Regions from separate parts of the Homo sapiens genome. Here all the other regions are linked to region 3. Evidence: promoter capture Hi-C in 16 types of primary human blood cells and fetal thymus (Javierre and others, 2016). All regions are on one chromosome and are shown on one strand. The core of a region is centred on a gene start or on the middle of the fragment in contact, and the rest is flanking DNA. Distances in the headings are between cores, read along the strand shown. Region 1 overlaps COL8A2 (collagen type VIII alpha 2 chain). Region 2 overlaps THRAP3 (thyroid hormone receptor associated protein 3). Region 3 holds the start of THRAP3 (thyroid hormone receptor associated protein 3).

Region 1 (2,804 bases), core at 110-2,609, 100 kb after region 3:
ATTATAGGAGTGAGCCACCGTGCCATGCCTGGTCTTTTTTTTTTTTATTAAGACGGAGTCTCACTCTGTCGCCCAGGCTGGAGTGCAGTGGCGCGATCTTGGCTCACTGCAACCTCCACCTCCTGGATTCAAGCGATTCTCCTGCCTCACCCTCCTGAGTAGCTGGGATTACAGGTGTGCACCACCAGGCCCGGCTAATTTTTGTATTTTTAGTAGAGACAAGGTTTCACCATGTTGGCCAGGCTGGTCTTGAACTCCTGACTTCAAGTGAGCCACCCACCTTGGCCTTCCAAAGTGCTGGGATTATAGGTGTTAGCCACCATGCCTGGCCTTTCTTCCTTCCTTCCTTCCTTCCTTCCTCTCTCTCTCTCTATTTTTTTTTTTTTTTTTGAGACGGAGTCTCGCTCTGTCGCCCAGGCTGGGGTGCAATGGCATGATCTCGGCTCACTGCATCCTCTGCCTCCCGGGTTCAAGTGATTCTCTTGCCTCAGCCTCCTGAGTAGCTGGGATTACAGGCACACGCTGCCAAGCCTGGCTAATTTTTATATTTTTAGTAGAGATGGGGTTTCACCACGTTGGTCAGGCTGTTCTCGAACTCCTGACCTTGTGATCTGCCCGCCTCGGCCTCCCAAAGTGCTGGGGTTACAGGCGTGAGCCATTGTGCCCGTCCTCTTTTTATTTATTTTTTTGAGATGGAGTCTCTGTCACCCAGGCTGGAGTGCAGTGGTGCAATCTTGGCTCACTGCAACCTCCACCTCCTGGGTTTGAGCAATTCTCCTGCTTCAGCCTCCCTAGTAGCTGGGATTACAGATGTGTACCATCACTTCTGCTAATTTTTGTATTTTTAGTAGAGACGGGGTTTCGCCATGTTGGTCAGGCTGTTCTTGAACTCCTGACCTCAAGTGATCCGCCCGCCTGAGCCTCCCAAAAGGAATGGAATCTCAATTGTCGTACGTCTACAGTGTGTGGGGCATCTTCATAGCACAAGGGGTTTTTTGTGGAGGGGGAAAGAGGAATAGCAGGCATGAGAAGGTCAGACCCAGAGAGAGCCCAGAACCGTGAGGGCTGGGATGGTATTTTCTATTATCTAGGAACCCTTGGTGGTCCCTGGTGGGTCCTGCAAGGGAGGGAAGCCTCTGTGAAGAGGCGGGGCCTGAGCTGGGGGTCCTGGCCTCTGGTCTCAATTCTGCCACTGGCTGCTGTGTGACCTCAGGAGAGTTTTCCTCTGAGTCTGTGTAACCCCATCCATGAGCTGGGCCAGCAGTGCCAGCCTGCCTCTCCTTACAACCTGTGGTGAGGAGAAACCTAGATTGCGGGGTAGAGGGGTCAGTTATCTCCTGAAAGATCCCAGGTGGCCAACTCTTTGGTCTCCACACCCGTCCAGTGTCCACAGCCCCCACCACCCGGAAGTTCTCCTTTCTGGCTAGCCTCCTTCCTTCCCACTGTGCTGGCTGCCACCAAGCTCTGCGTGGGCACTCCAGGCCACGCTCCCTGACAGGCGACCACGGCTCTGCTCATGGCAAGCATTCTTTTCATAGTTCCTGGAGCACAGCAAATCCAGCTGCTTAGCCAGGAATGCAGAGCCCCCTCCTGCAGCGGCAGCAGGGGCTGGATTGGGGTTGGAACCCCTGGGGGTCAGGCAGGAGGGACTGAGGGGGTGCGGGGGACTGACCTTCACCCCAGTACACACCATGCCTCAGCTTGGGGGAGCCAGAAGGTTGTCCTCATCTTTGGACTTGCTTAGCTTGGGGCCAAGCTCTGGGACCATCCTTCCCTGGCTGGGGGAACTTGGGCAAATGGTGAACTTGGGTTCACCACTGTGCCAGGCCAGTGATTATATTTATAATAGGGCATATTTATTTAGGATTCCTATATGCCAAGCACTGCTCTGAGTCCGTTACACAAAATTAACTTGTTTAATCCTCACAAATGCTCTGTGAAGCTGAGCTGGGCAGCTTTATATGGGCTGGGCAGAGCTGGATTCAGATTCCACCCCTTTCACTTCCTAGCCTGGTTACCTTGGAGAATGGATGTGACCTCTCTGGGACCTAGCACTCTTCCTCAGTAAAATGGGACAGCAGTTCCAGCCTTCCAGGGTTACGGGAGTAAATAATGCCTGGAGTTCCCATTTCATTGATGAAGAAGCTGAGGCCCAGGTGGAGGTCTCATGCTAGTAAGAGCTAGGGCTGAGATAAGGATGCATGCAGCTGGGCTCCAGAGAGGTCCTCTTAATCCGACATGATTTTTAAAGCAAGACTCTTAGTCCAGAGCCTGCCCGTAGTAGGAGCTCAGAAATGGGAAATTTTCCCATGAGCCCCATCTCTGGCAGGAGCCAATTGTTCACCTCATGGCCATCAGCACCTCAGTCTGGAAAGTTGGAATGGGGAAGCGGGCCTGAGGCCCTGGCCAGCCTCCCTGGAACCCTGCAGCTCTCAGAAGCTGGTTGGGGGTGGGGGGCGGGGGGTGCAGACTGTCCCACCCACATCTGGTCTGGGATTTAGCCAACAGCGGCAGGCTCTGTGCAAAGGGGAGACGTCGCCAGGGGAGGGGCTCCAGGAGGGGATTAGGGAAGGCAGCTGGGGGTGAAGGTTAAGAACAGAGTCCCATTGAAGTCGGCTCAGGCACCGCCCTGGCTTACCCACTCACCCCAGCTTCCTATTTGTAAGACAGAGGGGGCCTTGGCCCACTGGAGTGGACTCCTGAGGCACCTGATAGTAGCTGCCCACTCTGCTCCCAGCCTTGCCTGTCCCTGGTGCCATCTAGGTTGAGGCAGCACAGGTGGGGTAGAGCAGGAGTAGGGGGCA
Region 2 (2,895 bases), core at 391-2,890, 65 kb before region 3:
GTGCGTGTAATCCCAACTACTGGGGAGGCTAAGGCAGGAGAATCGCTTGAACCTGAGAAGCAGAGGTTGCAGTGAGTTGAGAGTGCACCACTGCACGCCAGCCTGGGTGACAGAGAGAGATTCTGGGCTGGGTGCGGTGCTCACGCCTGTAATCCCAGCACTTTGGGAGGCCAAGGTGGGCGGATCACGAGGTCAGGAGATCGAGACCATCCTGGCTAACACGGTGAAACCCCATCTCTACTAAAAATACAAGAAATTAGCTGGGCGTGGAGGCCTGTGGTCCCAGCTACTCGGGAGGCTGAGGCAGGAGAATGGCGTGAACCCAGGAGGCGGAGCTTGCGGTGAGTGGAGATCGCGCCACTGCACTCCAGCCTGGGTGACAGAGGGAGACCCCGTCTCAAAAAAAAAAAGAAGAGAGAGAGAGAGACTATCTCAAAAATACAATACAATACAATAAAATTGCTACGTTATTTGATGGGGAAGGGCCGTACTATAGACTTTGGCAACCCAGCTAGGAACGAAGAAGTGGATCCAGGATGGCTTCACAGGCAAAGCTATCTTAAATACAAGAAACAGCATTGGACTTGGGGGTGCAGTGATGAACAGAGAGTGAGCCAGTCACTAAGGACTGAAGAGATACTTCATCACCCCAGGGATACTGCCCCCCTTCAAAAGCACACAATCACTCTGTGACACATACTCTCCAGTGAACACAGGTGGACATGAAAGTATCACCACTGAAGCTTAAGACAGAAGGGGGAATACAGCAGAATGTCCCCAGGGAGAAAGGCTAGGCGACACCACTTAGGCCACTAAAGCACTGAGGATCAAGAAGGAGCATATCTCACCGTGCGAGGTCCTCATCAAAAGAGTCCATCCGGACATTGACCTGTGCCTCTCGAGTAATGGAAAAGGAAGACTTTCCTGTGGGAAAATCTCCTTTCGCTCCCAGCTTGTCTCGGCTCTCAGAGGTCTTTCTTGGGGGAGGTGATGAGCTTTTCTCCTGGACTGCTTTATAAGCAGTCACTCGGAAATTCTTCTCAGGCACAAAGCCCCTGTGCCCACCTTCGCTTCTCTTGCCCCGATCTTCCTTTTTGGATCTCTCTGGGAAAGACTCCTCCTCCAGCTCCTCTGTTTTTCTCTGCTTTTCCTTCCCTGGAGGTGCATATACCAGGCCCTCCCATTTGCCTGACTTCTCCTCCTCCTGGTTTTTGTTTGCACCTATGACTTTAGACATAAATTTGGGTTCATCATCAAACTCAGATTCCTTTCTTCCCTTAGCTTTGTCCTTATCTTGATCATCCATCTCCTCCTTGTGGAAGTCAGCCATCTTCTTCTCAAAGTCATCTCGGAGCTTATACCTTTTGGGAGACTGACTGCCCCGAAAAGGCTTCTCAGAATCAGTTTTGGGAGCAAAAGAATCAGATTTCATTTTTCCATCACCCAAGCCTGTGTCAGAGAAGCTCCCTTTCTCTTTTATTTTTTCTTTATCGGTATTTGTTTGTTTCTGTTCCTTATCTTTTCCATTCTCTGTCTTCTGCTCTTCTAGATACCTATTTATAAAAACACAAGAGAGAGACACAAGAGGCTTCTTAACAGCATGCTCTAAAATAGTGCCTTACCGTTTTTGGTTTTTGATTCTCTGAAAAAAACATGTCTTATGGATTCCTGTATTACCAAAGGACTTTCTAGGCGGTTACTTCGTAATAATTTCTGAAAACTGCCATTCACAGTTCTATGAACTTGCCAATTAAGAGAAAAATATATGATCCATGGAGTTGTGTCTTACAAAAGCAACCAAAGAGAACAACAAAAGTTATTTTTAGGATACTCAAAAACAAAAACAAAAACCTACTTACCTGTAATGTGATCTAGGGCAAAAAATAACTTAAGGTCTTACCCAACCTTCACTCAGTCACTTAAAATCTGCTTTCAGCAAAGTTAACATAGAATGTTCAACCTTGGACTGTTTTGCTTTTATACAACTCACATTTGGAAATACAAGTCTAAAAAGAGACTTCAAATTTGCTTCAAGTCACCTAGAAGATCTAAATACGAAATATACTGTGAACACAAATAAAAACAAAATACATGTTAATGGGGGAGAGGGTGACAGCAGCAAAAATCATCATTCTCTTTCTTATGGAAAAGCAGAGCTCATGCTCAAGTCTTCTAAAGAGATTCACAGTCCTGGCATGGAACAAAACTTATGTTTTAAAATAGACTTACTTGGGAGCTACACTATGAGGACCCAAAGGCATAAGAATGACATAATGAACTTTGGGAACTCAAGGAGAAGGATGGGAGGGGGCAAGGATAAAAAACTACACACTGGGTACAGTGTACACTGCTCAGGTGATGGGTGCACCAAAACCTCAGAAATCACCATTAACAAACTTATCCATGTAACCAAACACCACCTATTCGCCCAAAAACCTATTGAAATAAATAAATAAATAAATAAAATAAAACAGACTTACTGAAGGCAAGTACAGATTCAAAACATCTCATCTGTACCATTAATGCAGAAAGCTTAATCAAGTCAAAGTCGTGTTAATACAGCCAAGAAGAATCAAGGGATCAAAAAACATGCTAAATACGATAAAAGAAAAAAAAAGGGGGAGCCACTTGCTGGGTTAGTCCCTCTTGACCACAACCTGGTCCCAGTGCAACTTCCCTGTAACCTCTCTGCCATCCCAATCCATCCAACCATACAAACAAAGATTCATGTTCCAACTCACCGTGTCCCCCAGGGGAGAAAGACGGAAGCACTGTCATGTCCTCTCCTAACACGCAGCCGTGTTGGCTTCTACTGGGACATACACCCACCTTGTGGTTTTAAAACAAGGCCTTCCTGGACTATGCCTTGGCCTTTCCCATTCTGCCCAGTCTCCT
Region 3 (2,787 bases), core at 209-2,708:
CAGAAACCTCAACACAACTCTCTTACAAAATGCAATTAAGCCCAAATGGCTGCAGTAAAACTTATCATTAACGTATGAACATTGGCTCACAAAATACATCTCCCGGCAAAGAACAAACTGAGCCCGATTTGCTCCACAAGTTGTTCATGGCAGGAGCCGGTTTTGGCTATTTAACAAGCTTCTAAATCATAATACACACGTCAGACTGTCTAGAATTACAGAACAGACTACAACAGTACTTCCACAAACGAAAAAAGTCAGGGTCATCTGAAACAGAAGAAAAATAACGGTGTGATACACGCCTCATCTCTCTCGGCGCACACTCTAAAAAAAAAACCTATAAATGATGATATTACTTTTTAACAGTGGCTAAGTGATTTTTATTTTATCTCATTTAGTCTCCACAATAACCCTGTAAAGGGGTCACTGTTACTTACTGCTGTTTTAGTGATAAGAAAACTGAGGCAGCTGGAGATGAAGACTCTTGACCTAAGATCAAAAGATAGCAGGGCCAAGATTTAAACCCAAGCCAACTGGTTCAGGATACTTCTGTTATGCTCCCAACAGAAGCTTCACTGCCTCTCTCTTGCCAGGTCCTTCTATACTCTCAGAGGCTTTCCCTTCACCCCAAGTAACAAATTCCCCATAAACACTGTACTGCCACTGATGGCTTCCAACTTCTGTGCACCATTGCTGCTCCCCAGCTTCTGCTGCCATGCTCCACCCCTAAGATTTGTAAAGTCAAAGACAACAGTTGATAAAAGTTGCTTAGGTGCTAAGAGAAGCAAAATAATTCACCTCATATAAGCAGAACTCACGCCGATTGCCACTGGAATGCAAGCCGGCCTCAGCTCCAGCCCAAGAAAAAAGTGAGAACTCTAATATTCCCGTAGGAGACAAATTTGGACTATCCCGTTTTTGGCCACCAGGCTGGAAAGAACGGAAGCGGTACTAACATTTACTGAGTGGCAGCCACATGCGCCCTAGGAGAAGACCGAACCAGGCCAATGGGGACTGGGTGGGGGGAAGGGCACTCGGGAGTTCCGGGAAAAGAAATCCAAATAACGGGGTTCATACGACCAAAACGGGAGGAGTAGGGAGTGGCCGCCCCCAGGCCGACTGCAAGATAAAGCGGCGTAGGAGCTGCTCTGCAGAGAAGGCGACCAAGAGCCTTGGGAGCTAGGCCGGGGCCAGGGGAAGACCTAAAGGGCGGGGAAGGGGAGGAGCCGGAGGGAACGGAGCCCGCTCAGAAGAGGCCAGGGTGTAAGCTGGGGGGAGCGACTCCACGCCAGGCCTTCCCCGAGCCCCTGACCAGCAGCTGGGGAAAAAAGATAAGAGACGAAACCACTAGAGCCGGTTAAGCTGCCCTAACTTCCATCAGAGGCGCTCACTCACCTGGGCCTACCACAGAGATCGCAGCTGCAGCTCGCAACGGAACAACCAGCCCGAACCTCGCCCCCGCCCCACAGCGCGCCCAGCGTCTCCGCTCTCCGACGACGGCGACGGCGTAGACCCGCTGCCTCCTGGGAAATGTAGTCCTACGCCCTCCTCTCCTGGCCGACTTGGCTGCCATCAGAACTACGTTTCCCAAAAGACAAGGCGAGCGTTGGGCCCGCCGCTTTGCGTCACGCGCTCGGTTGTCGGCGGTCACGTGGGTTGCTCGGGGCCGTCCCCTCCCCCCGCCTGGGTGGCCTGGAGATGGAGGAGGGCGGTGGACGGAAGGGGCGGGGGCGTTGCTGACGCCACTGCCCCCACCATTTTGGAACCAGCCTGGAGGGAGAGTCTGAGCCCCACCCACTCCGGGCCAGCTTGCCTTGTTGAAAAGCTTCCGAGTTGGAAGTCGAGTCTCCCTGTTTTTGGTCTCTGCTGCGCTCCCTTCCGCTTTGTGACCTTGAGCAAATTCATCCCTCCTCTCTAAACTTGTTTCCTCCCCTGTGAAATGAGACTTGTAATTTCTACCCCACAGCGATGTTGCCAGGCTCCGACAAAGTAAGGCACAGGAAAGCCTCAAGCACCCTGAAAGCGCAACGCAAATGGAGGGGTTGGTTTGGTTTCGTTTTTTTAATTTTAATTGTGTGACCTCATTCGGAGACCCAGAAACCGCCTCTCCCCAGCCTGCCTTCTGTAACTATGATTTTCTGACTGTCGTCCTGGGAAGTTTGTTAAAATGGGTGCTACTGGGGTATTGAACCAAAAGTTTACCGGGGAGTGTCTCCCTGCAGTCTACATTTTAAACCGATCTCTCGGGTGATTCTTACCCACCTACAAATTTGAGAATCTCTGCGTTTATCAGTTTTGCACAGGCTGGTTTCCTCCGGAATTTCTGCTCTAGTGTCTCTGAACATTTAAGACCCATCTCATAGGTCATCTGTGATGCTTTCAAAGTTGACTAGCTCCTCCCTATGCCTGTGTTCCCACAGTAAGTTTGCATCTTACTCTGTAAGTATCGGGGCCTTCCCCGACAAGACTGTGAGCTCTTTGAGAGCCGAGATCAGTTTTGATGGATTTCTGCACCTCCAGAGAAAAGTAGACACAGTACACATCAATTAATAAAGAAATCTAATGCTCTTCCTAAGAGAAAAGCTGCAAGGCTCAACTCAAGTAGCAGACCACGCCACATCAGCCCTTGCCCTTAGTGGCTTCGGCAGCATTCCTTGCACACGGCTTACTCTTTCTTCCTTCTTTGAGCACTTCTTGTGGTCGACGTACTGCGCAGTGCTTCTTAAAACGTTCTAATTTAATTGATTTTATTTTTATTTATTTATTTATTTATTTATTGAGATTCTC

The links. Contacts are between HindIII fragments. The CHiCAGO score rates a contact against its expected background, and 5 or more counts as called.
Region 1: a fragment that was not itself captured here is called in contact with the fragment with the promoter of THRAP3 in region 3 in 1 of 17 cell types (M1 macrophages); the score reaches 5.7 in M1 macrophages.
Region 2: a fragment that was not itself captured here is called in contact with the fragment with the promoter of THRAP3 in region 3 in 10 of 17 cell types (naive B cells, endothelial precursors, total B cells and 7 more); the score reaches 7.5 in naive B cells.

The regions. Positions count from the first base shown.
Region 1 is chr1:36,118,334-36,121,137 of GRCh38, reverse strand. The region is part of intron 1 of COL8A2 (collagen type VIII alpha 2 chain); the gene reads left to right. Among named protein-coding and RNA genes, the nearest start is that of COL8A2, 5.5 kb to the left of the region's middle. The HindIII fragment of the contact is 6,305 bases long and covers 1-2,804 here.
Region 2 is chr1:36,287,718-36,290,612 of GRCh38, reverse strand. THRAP3 (thyroid hormone receptor associated protein 3) reads right to left here. Exons shown (of 12, transcript NM_005119.4): 5 at 849-1,553. Among named protein-coding and RNA genes, the nearest start is that of SH3D21, 17 kb to the left of the region's middle. The HindIII fragment of the contact is 1,789 bases long and covers 746-2,534 here.
Region 3 is chr1:36,223,114-36,225,900 of GRCh38, reverse strand. It overlaps THRAP3 (thyroid hormone receptor associated protein 3), which reads right to left and starts at 1,458. Exons shown (of 12, transcript NM_005119.4): 1 at 1,396-1,458. RefSeq lists enhancers at 1,012-1,540, 1,372-1,581, 1,541-2,068, 1,982-2,281, 2,492-2,661 and a silencer at 1,712-1,831. The HindIII fragment of the contact is 1,255 bases long and covers 573-1,827 here.